2 separate regions of the Homo sapiens genome follow, and region 2 is linked to region 1. The links are contacts of gene promoters, found by promoter capture Hi-C in human tissues and cell types (Jung and others, 2019). All regions are on one chromosome and are shown on one strand. Each heading gives the region's core, a stretch centred on a gene start or on the middle of the fragment in contact. The rest is flanking DNA. Distances are from core to core; before and after follow the strand shown.

Region 1 (6,613 bases), core at 1,614-4,113:
TTCTAATATCGGAATGTCAAAACGCATCAGACCTCAAGAGTTTCACACGAAGGATGATGAATTAGGCCCAGGGAGGTGCAGTGACTTGCCCAAGGTCACACAGAAGTGGACAGCAGAGTTGGGACTGGATCCAGGCCCTCTGGTTCCAGAGTCCTGGCTCTTGACCTCTGACCCTGGCTGCCGCCTCTCAGGGCTGGAGCTGGGGTCCACGGGAGGGGCAGTGCTGGGTCAGAGCACGGGAGGCAGGAGCTCACAGGGTCCTCACTACTGATGACCACGCCGGGTGCACTGAGGCCCAGAAGGCCACACAGCCATTGGATCATATCTGCAAAGCCCAGATAGTGGTGTGTGCCAGGGAGAAGGGGACGGACACTGGGGGAATGCGGTGTTACAGTATTAACGGAGGAAACTGAGAACCTCAGATGCATCCTGTGTCATCACAAAGAAGCTGAAGAATTAGGTATCAGAGTATATGCACCAAAAGAAAAAAGAGAAAAAGAGGCCGGGCGTGGTGGCTCACACCTGTAATCCCAGCACTTAGGTAGGCCGAGGCGGGCAGATCAGTTGAGGTTGGGAGTTTGAGACCAGCCTGGCCAACATGATAAAACTCCGTCTCTGCTAAAAATACAAAAATTAGCCGGGGGTGGTGGGGGGTGCCTGTAATCCCAGTTACTCGGGAGACTGAGGCAAGAGGGAGGCGGAGGTTGCAGTGAGCCGAGATCGCGCCACTGCACTCTGGCCTGGGCAACACAGTGAGACTCCATCTTAAAAACAAAAAAGAGGCCGGGCATGGTGGCTCATGCCTGTAATCCTAGCACTCTGAGAGGCCAAGGCAGGTGGATCACCTGGGTCAGGATTTCGAGACCAGCTTGGCCAACATGGCGAAACCCCATCTCTACTAAAAATACAAAAAATTAGTCAGGCATGGTGGCAGGTGCCTGTAATCCCAGCTACTTGGGAGGCTGAGGCAGGAGAATCTCTTGAACCCGGGAGGCGGAGGTTGCAGTGAGCCAAGATCGCCCAGTTGCACTCCAGCCTGGGTGACAGAGTGAGACTCTGTCTAAAAAAAAAAAAAAACTGGAAGGACATACTCCAAGCTTTTCTTAGTAGTGAACTTTATCTGTTGGGAATTATGGACAATTTTTATTCTTGTGTGATATTTTTTCCTCAATGAGGAAAAATTACTTTTACAGTAAGCAGGAATAAAAACAAAACCAAACCCAGATATACCTGAGAGGCAAACAGCGTAAGAAATGGTAGAATCTGTGGCATAGGCAGAATCATAAAATAATAATAATGTATGTCGGTGCTGTCCAATAGAAATAGAATGTGAACACGTGTGTAATGTTTGTTTGGTTGTTTTGTTTTAAGACAGAGTCTTGCTGTGTCACCCAGGCTGGAGTGCAGTGGCGCAGTCTCGGCTCACTGCAGCCTTGACCGTCTGGGCTCAAGTGATCTGCTCGCCTCAGCCTCCTGAGTAGCTGGGACTACAGGCACGTGCCAGCACACCTGGCTAATTTTATTTTATTTTAATTTTTTGTAGAGATGGGGTCTCCCTATGTTGCCCAGGCTGGTCTCAAACTCCTGGCCTCAAGCGATCCTCCCGTCTCAGCCTCCCAAAGTGCTGGGATTATAGGTGTGAGCCACCACACCCAGCCCACATGTGTAATTTTAAATTTCCTAGAAGCCACATTGAAATAATAATAAAGAAAAAACCAAACAGGTGAAATCAACTTTACTAATATATTTATTTAGCTCAACAGGTCCAAAATACTCTCATTTGAACCTGTCATCAGATGCAAACTTGCGATTGAGCCATTTTACACTCTTTATGGTGGAGCTTCGAAATCCAAGGAAACCCAACATGTGTTTTACACCCAGGGCGTCCAGGGCACCTCTCAGTAGCAACGCATGCAGTCCCCGAGCCCAGCCAGCAGCCCCGATGCTGGCGGCTGCCCTGTGAGATGCTGCGGGTTTACTCGGTGCCCAGGGACGCTCTGTGGACACAGTCACCTTTTGTCCATCCAGCAGCCCTAAGAACAAGGACTGTGATCGCCCCGTTTTAGAAAGGAGGAAACAGGAGCCTAAAGAAGTGGCTTGCTCCATGGCAGAGCTGGGCAGGGCTGGCCGGAGCCTGCGCCCCTCCCCGTCTCGCTCGGCCACCTCACACCCACCCATCGCCGTTCCCCGTGGACAGACACGGAAACAGAGGTCACGGGTGTAGTGTGAAGAGCAGAGCCCTGTTCAAATCCCGCCTCCCCCGTCCTGGTTGTAGGGCCTGTCACTTGAGCTCTCTGTACCTCTGGGCTCACTCTTACCACGAGGAGGATGATGAAAAGCACTTCAGAGGGTGAGGGAGAGGAGATGAGGTCCCAGTGTTCAGGGGTGCTCAGCACGTCGTCATTCTCATTGTTATCGTTATCGTTGGCGTTGAGAAACTTGTACCATGCCCTTGGGATTACAGCCCTGAGCCGTCCACTGAAAGGCGGCTCTTAGGGCCAAGAACCGTACTTTTTTTTTTTTTTTTGAGAGGGAGTTTTGCTCTTGTTGCCTAGGCTGGAGTGCAATGGCGTAATCTTGGCTCACTGCAACCTCCACCTCCCGGGTTCAAGTGATTCTCCTGCCTCAGCCTCCCAAGTAGCTAGGATTACAGGCGTCCTCCACCACACCCGGCTAATTTTTGTATTTTTTTTTTTTTTTTTTAGTAGAGACGAGGGTTTTATCATGTTGGCCAGGCTGGTCTTGAACTCCTGACCTCAGGTGATCTGCCCAACTCGGCCTCCCAAAGTGCCGGGATTACACACGTGAGCCACCCTCCCCGGCAAGAACTGTCTGACTGCATCCTTTCCCGCAGAAAATCAGGGCCGCCCCCATCCTGGCCCCCTGTCCTCCGACTCCCTGTTCCAGCCTCTCCTCTCCATGCCAATGGCCCCAGCTGCACCTCAGCCCTCTGCCTCTCCCACCAGGCCCTAGAAAGGTCTGTTTAGGCAGGGCGCATGCCTGTAATCCCAGCTATTTGGGAGGCTGAGGCGGCAGAATCGTTTGAACCCAGGAGGCGAGGTTGCGGTGAGCCGAGATAACGCCATTGTACTCCAGCCTGGGTAACAAGAGAGAAACTCAGTCTCAAAAATAAAATAAAATAGAAGTCTGTTTATACCCACAGATCCCCTGTCCCTCCCCTGGGCCCTTCACAATCCTCCCAGGACTGCCCGTCAGTCCCAGCATAAGACTCTCCCATGCCCCGCTGTGCTGCCACCAAGGCGACAATGACAGTGAGAGCCCATAAGACACAGTCTCTGCCCTGGAGCAGCTCATCCGCCTGGCACCACCTTCTCCTTCCTCCTCTACTTGTTTCCCCCACCTCCTGTTCTGGCAAGTCCCTGAGCCCAGCAGACACACTCTTGCCTCTGGCCTTTGCACCTTTCCTGCTTTTTTCCTGGATACCTCCCTGCATCTGTCCTTCAACACCTAGTTCCAGGGTCACTTACACAGGAGGATGTCCTGGTCCCGTCTCCCCACCCCAGTCTGGTCAGGGATCCCCGGGGCTGGGTTCCCTGGAGCCCAGAGTCCAGGTGCCTCCAGGGAGGGCAGGGACTGGGTCCCAACCACAGGGCGTCTTGCGCAATGAAGGACTCCACCGCCTCAGAGTGAAAAGGATAGACGAAGGATAGGCGCAGTGGCTTACGCCTGTAATCCCAGCACTTTGGGAGGCCGAGGCAGGCAGATGACTTGAGGTCAGGAGTTCCAGACTAGCCTAGGCAATAAGGTGAAACCGTGTTTCTAAAATTAAAAAAATTGTTAAAAAGTAATATATACTCATTTAGGAAAAAATGTATGAGAAGAAAATAAAAATTGGCCAAAATACATCTACCCAGAGCTAATTTATGTTAATCATTTGGCACATCCTTCCAATTTTTTCTATGCATATTATGCAGGGATATATTTTTTCATTATCTTTTACTTTTTTTTTTTTTTTGAGATAGAGTCTCACTCTGTTGCCCAGGATGGAGTGCAGTGGCACAATCTTGGCTTACTACAACCTCTGGCTCCCGGGTTCATGCAATTCTCTTGCCTCAGCCTCATGAGTAGCTGGGATTACAGGCACACGCCACTACGCCCGGCTAATTTTTGTATTTTTGTATTTTTTTTTTTTTTGAGACAGAGTCTCGCTCTGTCACCCAGGCTGGAGTGCAGTGGCACAATCCCGGCTTACTGCAAGCTCCGCCTCCTGGGTTCACGCCATTCTCCTGCCTCAGCCTCCCGAGTAGCTGGGACTACAGGCACCCGCCACCACTCCCAGCTAATTTTCTGCATTTTTAGTAGAGATGGGGTTTCACTGTGTTAGCCAGGACGGTCTCGATCTCCTGACCTCGTGATCTGCCCGCCTCAGCCTCCCAAAGTGCTGGGATTACAGGCATGAGCCACCACGCCCGGCTGTTTTCTTTCTTTTTTCTTTTTTTTTTTTTTTTTTTAGTAGAGAGGGGGTTTCACCATGTTGGCCAGGTGGTCTCGAATTTCTGACCTCAAATGATCCACCCGCCTCAGTGTCCCAAAGTGCTGGGATTACAGGCATGAGCCATTCATTGTGGCTTGCTTTTTTACAAAATTTTGATGATACAATATACTTGCCTGGGTCCTGCATTTCCCCTTAATAACATTGTGAGTATTTTCTTACATCATGAATAGTGCTTCAAAGACATGATATGAACGGCCCTCTAGAGTACTGGCCCACGGCTATACCTACGTATGGACATTGATCTGTAATTGACAGGGTGATCTTTCCTTTTCTTTCTCCTTTCTCTCTGTCTCTTTCCCTCCCTCCCTCCCTCCCTCTTTCTCTCTTTCTTTTCTTTTTTTCTTTTTTTTTTTTGAGTCTCGCTCTGTTGCCCAGGCTGGAGTGCGGTGGCACGATCTCAGCTCACTGCAAGCTCCGCCTTCTGGGTTCAAATGATTTTCCTGCCTCAGCCTCTGGAGTAGCTGGGACTACAGGCACGCACCACCACACCCGGCTAATTTTTTGTATTTTTAGTAGAGACGGGGTTTCACCGTGTTAGCCAGGATGGTCTCGATCTCCTGACCTCGTGATCTGCCTGCCTCGGCCTCCCAAAGTGCTGGGATTACAGGCGTGAGCCACCGTGCCTGGCCCTCTCTCTCTCTCTTTCTTTCTGACAGGGTCTCCCTCTGTCACTCTGGCTGAAGTGCAGTGCTGTGATCATAACTCACTGCAGCCTCAACCTCCTGGGTCCCAGTGATTCTCCCACCTCAGCCTCCCAAGTAGCTGGGACTAAAGGCACACACCACCATGCCTTGCTAAGTTTAAAATTTTGTAGAGATGGGGTCTTGCTGTGTTGCCCAGCCTGGTCTCAAACTCCTGGCCTTGAGCAATCCTCTTGCCTCAGCCTCCCAAAGTGCCGGGATTACAGGTGTGAGTCACTATGTCTGTGCTTGATTTCTTCTTTCTTTTTTTTAGATGGAATTTCACTCTGTCGCCCAGGCTGGACTGCAGTGGTGCGATCTCAGCTCACTGCAACCTCTGCCTTCTGGGTTTAAGCAATTCTCCTGCCTCAGCCTCCCGAGAAGCTGGGATTACAGGTGTGCACCACCACGCCCAGCTAATTTTTGTATTTTTAGTAGAGACAGCATTTCGCCATGCTAGCCAGGTTGGTCTTGAACTCCTGACCTCAAGTGATCTACTCGCCTTGCCCTCCCAAAGTGCTGCGATGACGGGCGTGAGCCACTGCGCCCGGCCGATTTTTTTCTTAATAGGCTTCTGCCTTGTCTAACTTCCCAGAGTGAACATGGCTAGCTTTCAGAACTGAATGAGACCTCCGTGAATGCTATTTCACAGGCAGGAGGGTGTGAATGTATTTGCAGGGAGCTGGTGGGGGCTCAGCCTGCAGGACACAGCCTGAGGATGGGCTCGGGCAGGCCTTGTGGGGCAGGGAGAATGGCGGAGTACAGCAGGAATGCCTCTGCAGGTGCGGGTCCTGAGGGTCATTTGGGTCCCAAGCCGGCCTGGGGTCTCTGCACCCAGCCGGAGATGCGACTGTGCCTGGGCATGAGGCTGGGGGCTGTGGGCATCGCCTGTCCAGGGCAGGAGAAGCAGGGGCTTGAGAATGTCTCTGGCCTGACTGGGCTAGAGCTCTAAAACTCCCCCCTCTGCCAGGGGACCCCCCCAGAGCTTGCATTTCTTCCTCAGAGAGAGTATCTGGGGAAGAACCCAACCTGGAGCTTCTCAGAGCCGGTTCTCAGAGCTCATTTCCCGGGACGCTAAACACCAACAGCAAAAAAACACTCTCTCATATCAATGCGTTAGGAGCCTGCACACTCCCTCCCCGAGACTCCAGTGCACCTGGCGTGTTGAAGCTCCGTGAAGCCCAGTGGGAGACAGCGGCTTTGTTTTGCTCAACTCTAGTTTTCCCAAACATAATACACATGGGGCCCTTCTCACCAAACGCAGCTTATCACCTCCCTGGGAAATGCTGGTGATTGATAAAGCAGGCACTCGGTTGCTATTTCTATTAATAATAATAACATCAATAATAGTAACAGGAGGAGGAGGTCCCGGTCATCACTGATCGCTAGGCAGAGAATGAGGTGGACTTTAAAAGAA
Region 2 (6,613 bases), core at 1,270-3,769, 110 kb before region 1:
CAGCCTGCCCATTGACACGCAGTACTACCTGGAGCAGCAGCTGGCCAAGCCCCTCCTGCGCATCTTCGAGCCCATCCTGGGCGAGGGCCGTGCCGAGGCTGTGCTACTGCGTACGGGGGCACCAGGGGACTGGGGGCACCCTGGGGGGGCAGAGGAGATCACCGGCCCACCACCTGCCTCCTCTCCTGCAGGGGGGGACCACACGCGCTGCAAGACGGTGCTCACGGGCAAGGTGGGCGGCCTCCTGGCCTTCGCCAAACGCCGCAACTGCTGCATTGGCTGCCGCACAGTGCTCAGCCACCAGGGTGAGCGGCCCTGGCCACTGGGCCCCCACTGGCCCTCAACCTGCTCTGCCGTCACCCCAGATCCTAGACACCCACCCCATCGGCTGGCACTGCCACCCAGTGGGCCCAGGGCCCCTGGGTGGGTGGCCCCTGTCTCCACCCCCCACAGAGGGTCCTCGGCCCCCACCCCGGGAGTTCCCCAGGGGAGTTTTCCCAGCACACTTGCTCCGTTGTTCTCCAGCCTCTGGGGACTTTCAGAAGCTGGGATTGGCAGTGGGCAGGGATGGGGTGGCCCAGTTCCTGGCTGGGCCCCAGCACTTGGGCTGACCCGCCTCCCCACAGGAGCCGTGTGTGAGTTCTGCCAGCCCCGGGAGTCTGAGCTGTATCAGAAGGAGGTGAGAGGGCCGGGAGGTGAGGAGGGGCCAGGTGGGGAGGCGGGGGCGCCCTGCTCAGCCGCTGCCGTCCCCAGGTATCCCATCTGAATGCCCTGGAGGAGCGCTTCTCGCGCCTCTGGACGCAGTGCCAGCGCTGCCAGGGCAGCCTGCACGAGGACGTCATCTGCACCAGGTGTGTGCCATGTCCCGACCCTGGGCTGCCCCGCCCCTTCCCAGCTCCCAGGCCTGTGGGTTGTGGACCCAACCTCTGACTCCAAGGCCTCTCCTGAGCATCCTCCCCGCCCATCCCCTTCCAGCTGTGAGCTGTCCTGAGCCTCAGTGTCCTTGTCTGAAAAATGGGCCCATCCCAGCCCCCCAGAGGGGGTGGGTGCTTAGGGAGGCAGCGCCCGGCACCCAGTGTTGCCCGGGAAACGGCTGTCCTCCCGACACACCCAGCCAGCCTGGCCCCCTCCCCAGGGCGGGGCCGGGCTTTCCCCAGGGAACGGGTAGGCGGGGTGGGTTCCCACGCCAGGTGACAGGTGATATACGGCCAGCCATGGCCCTGCACCTCGCCAGGCACCCGCTGTTATCGGCTCCCCCCCCCCACCCCCCCCGTGCCTGCTGAGCAAACAGCCCGCTGCGGGAGGGGGCGGGTGGGCTGGGCAGCAGGCGGGGACCAAAGTCCTGGGAACAGCCCCCACCCCTCTCCCAGGCTGGGCACTGGGCCTTGGCTGGTCCTGACCCTGCCCCTGCCCCCACCCGCAGCCGGGACTGCCCCATCTTCTACATGCGCAAGAAGGTGCGGAAGGACCTGGAAGACCAGGAGCAGCTCCTGCGGCGCTTCGGACCCCCTGGACCTGAGGCCTGGTGACCTTGCAAGCATCCCATGGGGCGGGGGCGGGACCAGGGAGAATTAATAAAGTTCTGGACTTTTGCTATATGGTGCTTTGTGGTCTCTGGGGGACACTGTCTGGTTTCATAAGCCCTGGCCTTGGCTGGGACCCTCCTGAGGCCCGCACCGCCCCTCATCCTCAGCAAAAGCCCCCGGACTCCCACCTGTGCTGCCTGGTTCATGTGGGCCAAGCCTGCCTCAGTTTCCTCTCTGGCCCTGAAGGAACCCTTATACCAGCGCTTCTCTGCCCTGCTTAGGGCCCCCAGGTGTCTGGCCCCGGCCCAGCCCTCCCTGGTGATGACCCTGGGGACCCTGGTGGCTGCCCCGCCCTCCAGGTGCTGACCTGTTTCCTCCAGGCCCTGGGGCAGCCCCAGGCGCACCGGGGCTTCCACTCCTCAGCCCGGCCAAGGGGACCCCCCCATCCCCCGCCGGACCACACACCCACGATGTTTCCACGTCGGGGTCCTGGCAATGGGCTTTGGGTCTGGGTTTCCCCCCAGCGACTCCCATCTCTATCCCCGCAGCCTCTAACTGCCGTCAGATGCCCTCGGCCCTCCCGTCACCTCACACATCCCCCGGGGAGAGTCTTGTGCTTGCCCCTCGGCCCCCAGCCCGCCCCTGCTGGAATTCGGCTCCTGGGTCCAGATCCTCCGTTTCCTGATTCTCCTCTTCAGTGAACCCCAGCCCTTCCTCGATGTTTTCAGGGTTCCCCCAAATCCAGCTCCTGTCCCATCTCCAGCCCTCAAGGTCAGCCCCCCAAACCCAGCCCCACGGGGATCCCCAAATCCAGACAGCCCCTGGCCCGCCATCCCTGCCATGTGACAAAGGGGTTGTGCAATCCAGCCCCCTCCCCTGACCCCCTCCCTGAGGGGATTTTTGAGGAGGGCCGAGCTTGTGGCCAGCGGGCACCCTCCTCCCCCCGGCAGGGGCTGGGCCAAGATATAAATAGGGTTGGCGGCTGCAGCGGGCGGCAAACAGCCCGCCCGGCACCACCATGCTCGCCCTGGAGGCTGCACAGTAAGTGAGGGCCCCCAAACCTGCACCCGGGGTCCCCACCTGCACTGCCCCTCTGTGGGGCCTCACCCATGGGCAGTGGTTTCTCTGCTCCTCACGGCCGGTGGGTGGGAGTGGAGGGGAGGGGTCCACCCTGTCTCTTGCCCCTTCTGGTTCTGTTCCCTCTTCACTTCGGACTCTCCATCCCCCCAGTTCCTATCTTTCCTGGTCCCCAAAGATCTCATTTCCCCAGAACACTTGCTAGCGTGCCCTCCTGCGGGCGTCCTCCGTGGCTCTCACTCTGTCCATCCTCCTGTCTCCCCGAGTTCCCGTATCTGTTCGCTCTGTATCTGGCATCTCCCAGCTCTCAACATTCTGCCTGTTGCTCTCTGTCTCTCTGCCTGTCTCTGTGTCTCTGTCTCCAGTTCTCGCTCTCCCTGCCTTTTGGTCTCCTTCTGCCTCACCCTCACTCTCAGTGCCTCCATCTGGGGCTCCAGGAATCCTCCCCGCCTCTGTGCGTGAATGTCCCTTTGCACACCTTTCTCTGTGTCCCACCTCTCCTTGAGCCTCCTCATCTGAGTCTTCTCCGGGCTTCCCCCTCTCTACCCAGACATCTCTCCATCCTTCTCCTCTGGTCCAAGCTGGACTCAACTGACTCGCCACCAAGGCCGCACTTGACCCAGGCCCCCTCTCCATCCCCACACCTCCTTTCCGGGACTTTCTCTCCCTCACTTTCCCTGCCCCTCCCCACCAGGGTGTCTATGCAAATTCTGGGGAGGAGGGGGACATTTGCCTCCCCCCCACCCCCCACTTCCTGTCCCAGCAGGGGGTAGTGGGGGAGTCCGGTGAATGTGGTGGGGCTGGTCCCTCACACAGGGCTGCGGTGGTCACAGCTGCTGCCGCCTCCCCATCAGCCCCCAACCACTTTGAGATTCAGGTGGCTGGAGGCAGCCTCAGCATGCCCCTGTGTCTCTCCCCCTCCAGGCTCGACGGGCCACACTTCAGCTGTCTGGTGAGTTGGGGCCCCTGGGGGCCAGGGAGGGGTGGCCCACAGTGACCTCCCTCAGAGAAGTCATTTGCTTCCTGCCTCAGTTTCCCCTCCCACCTCTTCCTGTCACTTTGTTTCTGAGCTCCCCCTTGGTATCTCCTGCTACCCCGCATCCGTATTTTTGATGTCTCTCTCCCCCTCTCAGGCTTGAATCCACTTCCTTGTGGCTTTGTATCTCTCTCTGCCCATCCCATATTCAGACAATGTATTTTCATGTTCCTTTCCTTCTTTTTGTTCGTATTTTTAAAAATTGTGTTCTCTAACAGTTCAGATACGGAATACTATACCCAACACCCTTGAACCCACAATCCAGTCTGAGTAATCAAATCTTACTGATGTGGTTGAAAGAAAGCCCCTGTTTATGCCCCTCCACATTCACACCCCAGCCATGTTTTTTTTGTTTGTTTTTGTTTGTTTGTTTTTTAATTGAAGTGTAACTAACAAGTCAGTAAAGTGACAAATCTTGTGTTTTTGCATTATCTATACACCGTGTAGCCACAAGCCAGATCAAGATACCGAACATTTCAATCTCTGAAATATTCCTTCCTGTCCCTTCTCAGTCAATACCTTTCTCTGATATTTTCCGCCACCAATTTGTAATTTGTTTTGCCTGCTCTTTTTTTTGTTTTGCTTTTTGAGAAGGAGTCTCGCTCTGTCACCCAGGCTGGAGTGCAGTGGCAGCGTCTTGGCTCACTGCAAGCTCCACCTCCCGGGTTCAAGCAATTCTCCTGCCTCAGCCTCCCAAGTAGCTGGGATTACAGGCATGTGCCACCATGCCCAGCTAATTTTTGTATTTTTAGTAGAGGCAGGGTTTCACCATGTTATCCGGGCTGGTTTCAAACTCCTGAGCTCAAGTGATCCTCCCACCTCAGCCTCCCAAATTGCTGGGATTACAGGCGTGAGCCACCGCACCCAGCTGCCTGCTTTTGAACTTTATGTAAAGTGAGTCATACAGCATGTCCCTTTTGGGGTCTGGCTTCCCTCACTCAACATGAAGTGTGTGTCAGTGTTTGTCCTTTTTCCTTGCTGTATAGTACTCTATCTATGATCAGCCCACACCACAGTCTGTTTATCCCTTCTTCTGTTGATGACACCTGGGCTGTTTCCAGTTGGAGACTCATAATAAAGCTGCTGGGATGATTCTGGAACAAGGCTATTTTGTGCACATCCATTTTCAGTTCTCTTGATTAAATGCCAAGGAGTGAGACTGCCAGGTCCTAGGCATGGTGTGGATCTAGCTTTAGTTTTTCCTAGACTCGAGTTCTTGAAGCAACAACACATGATTCATGGGGCGAATCAACATATGGAGATTTATTTATTTATTTATTTATTGAGACAGAGTTTTGCTCTGTCGCCGGGCTGGAGTACAGTGGTGCGATCTCGGCTCACTGCAACCTCAGCCTCCTGGGTTCAAGCGATTCTCCTGCCTCAGCCTCCCAAGTAGCTGGGACTACAGGTGCGCACCACCATGCCTGGCTAATTTTTGTATTTTTAGTAGAGACGGGGTTTCACCATGTTGGCCAGGCTGGTATCGATCTCCTGACCTCATGATCTGCCTGCCTTGGCCTTCCAAAGTGCTGGGATTACAGGCATGAGCCACCATGCCCGGCCTATTTATTTTTCGAGACAGAGTCTCACTCTGTCACCCAGGCTGGAGTGCAGTGGCGCGATCTCAGCTCACTGCAACCTCCACCTCCCAGGTTCAAGCGATTCTCCTGCCTCGGCCTCCAGAGTAGCTGGGATTACAGACATCTGCCACCAGGCCCAGCTAATTTTTGTATTTTCAGTAGAGATGGGGTTTCCCCATGTTGTGCAGGCTGGTCTCGAACTCCTGACCTCAGGTGATTCACTGGCCTCAGCCTCCCAAAGTGCTAGGATTACAGGCGTGCGCCACCACGCCTAGCTAATTTTTGTATTTTTAGTAGAGACGGGATTTCACCATGTTGGCTAGACTGGTCTTGAACTCCTGACCTCAGGTGATCTGCCCGCCTCGGCCCCCCAAAGTGTTGGGATGACAGGCGTGAGCCACCACGCCTGGCCTGGAGGTGTATTTAAAAAGCATTGACCCCTGCCTCTGTTAAGTGAAACACTTCCATTTCCCCTTGCCCTTCACCTCCGGAGCCCCCAGGCAGGCAAGGCTGGGGGAGTTCTTCCACCCCTTCTCCAGGCGCCCTGATTCGCTGACTGTGTGCCAGTGAGGGGCCAGGGTTCTTGGGAGCCCACCGTCTTAGCAGGAGCTGGCTGCTGTGTGCCCCTATTGGGTTGTGTCTCTACTCTCTGTATCTCTGTCTCTTTGTCCCTGTCTCTGATGCCTAGTCTCTGTGTTTCTTTGTTGCTCTAATCTCTCCAGCATCCCCTCTTCTCTCCCATGTCTGTGTTGGAGTCTCCCCAAGGGTCCAGGGTGGGGGTTGGGAGTCCCCAAGGCCTGGGATGACCCCTCTTCCCTCCTGCACCCCGTATCAGTACCCAGATGGCGTCTTCTATGACCTGGACAGCTGCAAGCATTCCAGCTACCCTGATTCAGAGGGGGCTCCTGGTGAGTGACCCCAGCCCTGTGCCCTTCCTGCCTTGGGGCCCATTTCACAGATAGGGGAGCTGAGGCCCAGGGGAGGTCATTTCCTAGCACAACAGGATAAAGGTGGCCCGGGCCTATAGCCCTCCTCCCCTTTCCTCTCCTACCCATCCGCTCCTCCATGCAAATCCTGGGGTCAGAGATTTGCACAGCCTACAATGGCCTCTCTGTGCTGGGGGCTTCGACTGCGAGGAGGCCTCCGTGAGACATCCCAGCTTCTGACTCAGTGCCCTTCCCCCAGACTCCCTGTGGGACTGGACTGTGGCCCCACCTGTCCCAGCCACCCCCTATGAAGCCTTCGACCCGGCAGCAGCCGCTTTTAGCCACCCCCAGGCTGCCCAGCTCTGCTACGAACCCCCCACCTACAGCCCTGCAGGGAACCTCGAACTGGCCCCCAGCCTGGAGGCCCCGGGGCCTGGCCTCCCTGCATACCCCACGGAGAACTTCGCT

Evidence for each region. Contacts are between HindIII fragments. The study calls those that stand out against the background at their distance.
Region 2: the fragment with the promoter of SPIB here is called in contact with a fragment that was not itself captured in region 1 in 3 of the 25 tissues and cell types used here (H1 embryonic stem cells, lymphoblastoid cells and spleen).

What each region holds. Positions count from the first base shown.
Region 1 is chr19:50,522,896-50,529,508 of GRCh38, forward strand. The region is part of intron 2 of LRRC4B (leucine rich repeat containing 4B); the gene reads right to left. The region is part of intron 1 of LOC124904747 (a long non-coding RNA gene); the gene reads left to right. Among named protein-coding and RNA genes, the nearest start is that of ASPDH, 12 kb to the left of the region's middle. The HindIII fragment of the contact is 7,994 bases long and covers 1-6,613 here.
Region 2 is chr19:50,416,419-50,423,031 of GRCh38, forward strand. SPIB (Spi-B transcription factor) reads left to right here and starts at 2,520. Exons shown (of 6, transcript NM_003121.5): 1 at 2,520-2,567; 2 at 3,528-3,555; 3 at 6,055-6,127; 4 at 6,405-6,613. The coding sequence starts at 2,545. POLD1 (DNA polymerase delta 1, catalytic subunit) reads left to right here. Exons shown (of 27, transcript NM_002691.4): 23 at 1-110; 24 at 192-305; 25 at 627-679; 26 at 754-851; 27 at 1,424-1,596. The coding sequence ends at 1,529. RefSeq lists silencers at 1,147-1,286, 1,317-1,376, 1,659-1,827 and an enhancer at 3,367-3,416. The HindIII fragment of the contact is 45,060 bases long and covers 1-6,613 here.